Regions from separate parts of the Homo sapiens genome. Here region 1 is linked to region 2. The links are contacts of gene promoters, found by promoter capture Hi-C in blood cells and fetal thymus (Javierre and others, 2016). All regions are on one chromosome and are shown on one strand. The core of a region is centred on a gene start or on the middle of the fragment in contact, and the rest is flanking DNA. Distances in the headings are between cores, read along the strand shown. Region 1 has its middle 130 kb from the start of ADAMTS1. Region 2 holds the start of GABPA (GA binding protein transcription factor subunit alpha).

Region 1 (4,261 bases), core at 1,761-4,260, 980 kb after region 2:
AAGAGAACAGGTCAACTGCAACCTGTGTTTTAAGCACATTCAAAATACATTATAATTTGTTTTCATTTAACTGTCATCAACTTAGGTGAAAGTCATCCTTTTTAAGACCTTTGATTTGGAAGGAGTTTTCTCACTTGTGTTACATATTATGCCTTGCCTTTAAAGGTAGTCTTCAAACAAATATAATAATGAAAATTGGTTTGTATTAATGTAGTGGTAAAAATTTAGGTCTAAGGAGACAGATGAATTAGGTTTCTCGAGTCAATTTGAATGCAACAAAAAAAATCTAGGTTTCTTATTTATAACTCCTGCATTTTACAAATCTGTCCATTTGAAGCTGTGGGCTTACATAAATCTGTCACTTGGTACATCAAATAATCTGGGATTGCTTACAATTTAACCATTAAGATCTTTTCTAATGCAGCTCATTTTTTAGAAAATCGTATTCAAGCATAGATTGCTGGGTTTTATTTAAAATTAAGATTTTTAAGACACAATATTCTCTTTTATTTCAGCTTTAGATCCCTTCCCCAAACAGTAAAAATGCTCGCATAAAAATAAAATATTATGAACAGATTTAGTGGCAGCTGATTCTGGGTTAAATGCTCCACCTTGTGGTTGAATAAGGAAATTTACTTTTTAACTTTTTATTTAATGATGTTAATATGAAAGTTGTCTTCTCTTTTTGTCCTTGGAAGACAAAGAGACTGCTGCTGCTGATGGTGAAATTATCCATAATGTGTATATAGATTCACCAAGAAGATATGATTTGGTGGCTTCAGAAGCCAGATTTCGGGGTACACCAGAGACTCAGCAATTGACATTGGTGCCATCTGGTAAAACGTGACCAAAATGAACCCCAAGTTAGTACCCTGAAGGTTTTACCCTTTGTGTAGAAACGTTTCCTAAGTCATTCTACACAATAAATTAATACTACACAATTAATACCTGCACATATAGTCCAGAAGGAAATGAAATGGACAGGTGCCTGTGTGCGCGCCTGTGTGTGTGTGTGTGTGTGTGTGTGTGTGTGTGTATGTGTGTGTGTGTGTGTGTAGGTGGGGTAAGGGGATAGGAAATTACAGCTCTGAGGGTGAAACTAATTTAGTTCTATTTTCAGAAGCCTCAAATCTCCACTCCCACTTCTCTTGCAGTATGCAGGAAGGAGGCTGGATCCCATCAATACCTAAGGAAAGCTCACTATCACTTGCTTTGGAAAATGGAAAATTCCATTCTCATCAGCTTTCTGCAGAACCTGGAGCCATCTCAGCCAACCAGAGTTCTTTCATCGAGATGGGCCCTACAGATGCTTTCTCCTTTCTTTTCATCCTAAAGAAATGCTACCCTCATATCTGTTTTTACTTCCATAAGCTTATTTTTCTTTTTGTCACAGAACTTCGTAGGTACATTTTAGGGCACATTAAATTTTAGCTAATACTTATTGCTTCCGAAATAATATCTGTTCTGGTTTTCAATTGGCCATTCTTGCATTGCTATAAAAAATACCTGAGACTGGGTAATTTATAAAAGAGGTTTAATTGGCTCATGGTTTTGTAGGCAGTACAGGAAGTATGGTGCTGGCATCTGCTTGGCTTCTGTGGAGGCCTCAGGAAACTTACAGTCGTGGCAGAAGGCAAAGCAGGAGCAGGCACATGGCCAGAACAGGAGAGAGAGAGAGTCGGGGGTGAGGTGCCACATACCTTTAAACAACTAGATTTCACAAGAACTCACTCAGTATCTCGACAAGAGCACCAAGAGGCTGGTGCTAAGCCATTCATGAGAAATCCACATCCATGATCCAAACACCTCCCACGAGGCCCCACCTGCAACACTGGGGATTACAATTCAACATGAGATTTGAGAGGGAACAAATATCCAAATTATATCACCATTGCATTTTATTGTTTTCTACCTTCAGTAAAATAGCTTCTGACAGCAAAATGAGTCACACTAGACCTCCTGAATTTAAGGAGAAAGGTGTGTGGTCTATTAACATTTGTGTATTTTGTTGTCCTTTCCTTGAAAGTAGAAGATTCAGAAGGAAGTCCCAGGCCTCCTAGTCCCTTCCCCCTGTCTTTGCAAAGAGGATGAAGACGGTAATGCCCCATCTCAGGGAACATGTTCCTAACAGCCAGTTTAAAACCTTTAACACAGAAAGAGAAAGAAATAGTTTTGCTGAATTCATTTACTAGTAATATTTTAAAAGCAGTGTTTAGGCCGGGCATGGTGGCTCATGCCTGTAATCCCAGCACTTTGGGAGGCTGAGGTGGGCAGATCACAAGGTCAGGAGTTCGAGACCAGCCTGACCAACATGGTGAAACCCCGTCTCTACTAAAAATACAAAAAAAAAAAAAAAGAAAAAAAGAAAAAATTAGCCAGGTGTGGTGGCACGCGCCTGTAATCCCAGCTACTCAGGAGGCTGAGGCAGGAGAATCGCTTGAACCCAGGAGGCATAGGTTGCAGTGAGCCGAGATCGCGCTGCTGTACTCCAGCCTGGGCGACAGGGAGAGACTCTGTTTCAAAAAAAAAAAAAAAAAAAAGGTAGTGTTTAAGGTATGTCACATATGTAGAACATCAGAATGAGAAAATGATGACAGTGGGCAGGCTGGCGGGCGACTGCAGATGAAATGTGGTGATTATGAAAAGTGTAGCATCTCTAGAGCCTTAGGCACATGCCTGGTTATGTGTTAAGAGCTATTCAAGAATAAGCTGTTCTAATAATCACAACTCTATAAGATGGGGCTACTAGTGTCCCCATAAAATATAAGGAAACTGAGACATGGGGTCATTGTCACACCTCCCTAATGTCATATGGCTGGAAAGTGGCAAAGTCAGAATTTGAACCCAGGGTCCTTCTGCCTCCAGCATTCATGTTCTTCATCTCAACACTCTCCCAGATTTTGTGGCAACAGTTGAAAATCAATATTGCCCTAAACCACTGTAATTTCAACAAAGATCTATGAACACCTATCATGTGTCAGGCCCGTGATGAACTCTGAGGGCACTGAGATGGATGACCTGGTCCCAGCTGTCCAGCCTCTGGTGAGTCTTTTTCAGCCTGTGAACACAGCTGTGGGAAACCTCCAATACCACACACAGCTTTTGCCCACCGGGCAGGCCCAACAAATGGCGTCTAGACACCACATACCATAGAGCCGCTGCCTTGCCAGCCATGAGGTCACACAACGCACTAGTCCACAGCACGCAAGCTGCCTTGGCGGCGTCTCAGGCCTGCTAATTGGGACAGGTGCAGAGTGATGACAGCGGGCCACCCACAGAGCTCTGGCACACTGGCAAAGACATGAGGAGCGGGAGGACAGGAAGAAGAGAAAGCCTGAACTGCAGCCTGGGCAGTGGTGGCTGGCAGATAAAAACATCCTTTATGCACCAAGAACTTGGCTATTTTTGGAATGGGCATTCCCTAATCTCTAAAGCAAATGGTAAAGCCTCAGGAAATGAGAGCCTATGAAAATATATGCCTACATGCAACCACCAGCCTTCCAAACTGGAAAGATAATTTGCACATATACACACATACACGCACGCACAGACACACATACATACATGCACAAACACTCCGATAATTCTAGTAGAAGCTGTGGATCTTTGTAGGATGTAAAGGGAAATGCTACTTCAGGGACAACCATTTTAACAGGTTCATTTCAAATGGGTAGGTAAGAATTAGAAGTAAAAATAAAAGAAAGACCATCTCAGTTACAGGTTAACAGTTGGTTAGGAGACATCATGAAAATGCTAAAGGAAAAGGAGCAGATTTAGAAGAAGCATGTAAAGAAATAAAGTTGACCTTTCTAGATTCTGAAGTTATCGGCAGAATTGATCTAATGTAAGTATTGGCAGGAATATTGTAGGAAGACACCAAGAGGAATGAGATAAGGTCACTTGATTGCAGGAATTTATAGTATAACAGGGCAAATCATTAAGAAATGTCTAAAGTTTTGGTGGAAAGACGCTCATTTTTATGTGAACTAATGGATGCTAATTTTCTTTCAAATGTATAACTGATATTGAATTTAAATGCTCAGCTACATGTAACATGCATTTCTGTTACAGTCTGTTAGGATCTCAGTGGGACTTTAAGAAATAATAAGACATAGAAACATGACTCGTAATGAGAAGCTAAACACAAAGATAGCGTATATGATTTATATTATGCAACTTTTTTTTAAAGTTAGGAGGCAATCACAATTGCTTACTTAATCTAGGTACTTGCAATTAAGCCATGAGCTGAGTATCAGATACC
Region 2 (4,283 bases), core at 1,090-3,589:
GAAACCCTGTCTCAAAAAAAAAAAAAAAGAAAGAAAGAAATCCTACAATCAGGCCGGGCGTGATGGCTCACGCCTGTAATCCCAGCACTTTGTTGTAATCCCAGCACTTTGGGAGGCCAAGGTGGGTGGATCACCTGAGGTAGGGATTCAAGATCAGCCTGACCAACATGGAGAAACCCCGTCTCTACCAAAAATACAAAATTAGCCGGGAGTGGTGGCACATGCCTGTAATCCCAGCTACTCAGGAGGCTGAGGCAGGAGATTCCTTGAACCCAGGAGGCGGAGGTTGCGGTGAGCCGAGATCGCGCCACTGCACTCCTCCACCCTGGGCAACAAGAGTGAAACTCTGTCTCAAAAAAAAAAAAAAAAAAAAAAAAAAAGAAATCCTACTATCAATGCAATCAACAAAATATGCTTCACCTGACAGAATGAAAGCAAACTGTTTGAAGAAATTAAAGAATTCATAACATATCACTTTTATACCCCATCAGGGAAAAATACTTGAGAAAAGGCTACAAGCAAACAACAAATGACCTCACAAGGTCATGTGCCACTTATTATCATTCCTATGTTTAAACACACAGAAACTGAGGATTAGAAGTATCTGGTCAAAGTGGTCGGGCGCGGTGGCTCACGCTTGTAATCCCAGCACTTTGGGAGGCCGAGGCGGGCAGATCACGAGGTCAGGAGATCGAGACCATCCTGGCTAACACGGTGAAACCCGGTCTCTACTGAAAAATACAAAAAATTAGCCAGGCGTGGTGGCGGGCACCTGTAGTCCCAGCTACTCCGGAGGCTGAGGCAGAAGGGCGTAAACCTGGAAAGTGGAGCTTGGAGTGAGCAGAGATCGTGCCACTGCAATCCAGCCTGGGCGACAGAGCGAGACTCTGTCTCAAAAAAAAAGTATCTGGTCAAAGTTACACAGCAAAATCTAACTTAACACATATATGCAAAAAAAAAAATTGTGCAATTCAATGCCACTTTCCCTTCTGGCAAACTAAGGACATGCTTAACATTCAGCAATAGGTTCACCCGACATTTGCTTAGCCCTAGATACTGTGCAAAGTACTTCCATATATATCCTTTCCTTGTACCCTTACAGCAATACTCTCAAAGAGTTAAAGTGTTCTTATCCCTGCTTTACAGATGATAAAACTGTATCTAAGAAAGATTAAGCTGCACGTATTCTCACAGTTAATTTGCTCTAAGTCTGACTGCATAGATGTTACTCCTTCTGCAACACGGGTAAAATCCACTTTCATTGTTTCAATTATCCACCATGTAAGTGCCTATGATTCCCCAATCGCATTTCTAATTTTAGTATTCATCCTGAGCCCCAAATCTATCCACAGCATTCAACAGTTCTCATCTCCCTTATAAGTCCTACGAACTCATCCAAAAAACGAACACATAATCCCATATCAAAACTTGTTCCTTCTCCTTTAATCCCTTTCATTTTTTTTCACTGATTAGTGAATGCATATTGTCCACTAAAACGCAGAAGATAGTCATTACACAAATAGCTGTGAAATACCACCTGACATAAATTCTCTATTCCAGTACCATCGGGTGCCACGAGAGCATATGATAGCGTCTGACATGATCAGAAAGACTGGGGAAGGCAACAGTAAGAAAACACTAGTCTGAGCAGAGGCCTTGTTCTGGGTGGGAGCATGGTTCTATTTATAGTGATGACTGACCGGCCAAAGGTTAGTAGGTTCGCTGCCTCTTCAGTGCATATTCCTATGAACAATCCATAAAGTCGCCTAATGAAGTGTTAGCACCATCGTTTTTAGGTGGGATGCAAACTTTCAATATTATGACTAATTTTTTCCCTCTTAATGGTACACGTTCTGCCTAAGTAGCCTAGACGCTCCCGTGCGCCCGGGGCGGGTAGGCCTGGCCGAAAATCTCTCCCGCGCGCCTGACCTTGGGTTGCCCCAGCCAGGCTGCGGGCCCGAGACCCCCGGGCCTCCCTGCCCCCCGCGCCGCCCCGATTTGCCCTCAGAGAGGGTATCGATCTTATTTCTGGGTCTACGGCAAACTCCAAGGTCTACAAACGTAGAGGTCAGCTGTGACCCCGGGCCAGGCCGTGAAGGTCCCCAGGACACAGAGCTGCTCTCTCCTCCTAGTAAAGGTGAGAGGCAGCCCAGGCCTCGTGAAAAAACCCAGAACTGGAGTCCCAAAAGGCCACGCTGATCTAGCTACCCTCCCAGTCACCTTGCACTCAGTCCCGAGCTGCCAAAGCCTCCGCCGCCACCACCTCCGCTCTACTTCCGGCCCTGGCTCCGCCCCCACACGCCTACCCGCCATCGCAATGCATTATGGGCCGCCGTTTCAGTCGGTCGACGCTCACCGGACAGGAAGCGTCTCGGAGACAGTCTGCGACCGGACGGGTCTAGGTGAGACAGAAGCCAAACAGGAGGAGGAAGTGGAGGGTAAGTGCTTCCGGGTCCCCTGGCACAGCCTCCGCCATCTTTTCTTCGCCTAATTTGACCCGTTCTTTTTCCCCTCCTTGAAACCTTGCTCTGTACGCATGCGCTCTTTGAGTGGCCTTTCCCCTAGTTCAAGCTCCCCTCCGAGTCAGCGTCCTGTTCGTTAGGGTTATCGAAGTGTATAAAGGTGCAGGGAAAGTGAGACTGTGTAAAACAAAGCGGATTGGGGCGTTGTGCTTCCTTGTACCTCGTGAGCCTCCGTTGCCTTGGGCGGTCGTTTTGCGCACCCTGCCGGGAGTTGTAGTCCTGGACCCGAAGGTGCCTGGGAGGCGGGAGGGGGGTTGGGGCTTCTCAGCGCCGATTCCGCGGGAAGGGCCCTGGGACCTCACACTTCTAGTCGCGGGAGCTGCAGGTCTTACCCGGAGAGACGCTGCACGTGGAGCCCTCGCCGCTGCCGTTCTCAGCCGGCTCTGGAGTGCGGGCGGGGGCGACAGGGCCGATTCCGGAGTGGGTGAGTGCGGCCGCCGGGGAGGAGGGGAGCGCGGGCCCTCGCGGGCCGGCCTCGTTCCGGGGCCTTTTCCCCCACAAGGGCCCCCCCGCGGCCGCCTCTGTGTTTTGTTTCCGCTGGTCCCCGGCGCTGTGACTCCCATTTCCGTTCGTGGAGACTTGAGGGAGCCGGGTGGGGAGGGGCGGGAGAGCTGTGCGGGGAGCGAAGGGGAGGGGCGGGGGGCGAGCGGCCTGGAGCCCGGGGGGACCGGGCACCGCCGGGACCCGTGCCGGACGGGTCGCCTGTCGCCGCTCCCTCCTTTCCGCGTCCCCTCCTCGCCCGTCCGCACTCCTCAGCAGTCTCAGCCTGCTCAGCTGGGATGTGGTCCTGACGCCCCCGAGATTTTAAGAGCAAAATGCAGACCCTGTCTCATCGCGGGACTCAGCGATTCACTCATTTCAAATCCGCTCTCTTTATAGAACAACACACACCAGAATCATTTATCAGCGTATATGGTAGCCATCTGGGTTTGTTTTTTTGTTTTTAAGCAAGGAAGTAAACCAAGGAGATAACAATGGGTTGTCTACTTGGAAATTTTTTTGTGTACTAGAAGACACGCTGTATGTGCGTGTTTGGATTTAGGGACCCCAGTTTGATCAGGTTAGCGGACCGAGAGGACAATGCCTAATATTGCATTGCAAGATGATTAGAAATTTAGAAATAAAATTCATTTCATAAGTAGTTTCCACTAATAGCAGTAGGTCTGACTCGTGAGAAGAGCAAAGATTTAGCAGGATTCACTTGAGCGAATTGTAGAACGAGGCGGTGATAACATTCTTCGGTAGTGTTATCTTGAACTTCAGAAGAAACCGCTCAACTCTTTAGCAACTGCTTGAGGGACTAGCCTGTCTCTCAGGGTTCCATCCAGGCTTTCCAAGCTTCTTTATTTTTAGACATACAGTGACGCTGAGTGGACTTCAAGTCAATTTTACCTGAATTGTGTATACAAGAGCATCTGTCATGAGGCATGTATAGTAATGAAGTAATTAAATCATGAGCTAGATGTTAGGTTGAAGCAAATCATCAGACCGAGTACTAAATTAAAACTGTTGACTTTAGCCTTCCCTCAACTCTTTATATATAAAACTCCAAACCTACAGAAGAATTGGGGAAAAAATCATGCAGTGAACACGCAGATACCCTTCACCTGAGGGTCCCAACTGTTAATCTTTCACTGTATGTGCTTTCTCTTTTTATATTACATAGATATGTATGCTTTGCTTTTTCTTAACTGCTACCTTTATTTTTGAAAATAAAAATGTCTTTTAATTTCCTCAGACACAGAAAAGCATTTGATAACT

Evidence for each region. Contacts are between HindIII fragments. The CHiCAGO score rates a contact against its expected background, and 5 or more counts as called.
Region 1: a fragment that was not itself captured here is called in contact with the fragment with the promoter of GABPA in region 2 in 1 of 17 cell types (fetal thymus); the score reaches 8.5 in fetal thymus.

What each region holds. Positions count from the first base shown.
Region 1 is chr21:26,716,744-26,721,004 of GRCh38, forward strand. No RefSeq gene overlaps it. Among named protein-coding and RNA genes, the nearest start is that of ADAMTS1, 130 kb to the right of the region's middle. The HindIII fragment of the contact is 3,282 bases long and covers 1,370-4,261 here.
Region 2 is chr21:25,732,633-25,736,915 of GRCh38, forward strand. It overlaps GABPA (GA binding protein transcription factor subunit alpha), which reads left to right and starts at 2,340. Exons shown (of 10, transcript NM_002040.4): 1 at 2,340-2,946. ATP5PF (ATP synthase peripheral stalk subunit F6) reads right to left here and starts at 2,272. Exons shown (of 4, transcript NM_001003703.2): 1 at 2,221-2,272. RefSeq lists enhancers at 1-401, 1,694-1,773, 2,092-2,747, 2,174-2,283, 2,304-2,423 and silencers at 1,884-1,983, 2,924-3,063, 3,124-3,333. The HindIII fragment of the contact is 6,464 bases long and covers 1-3,858 here.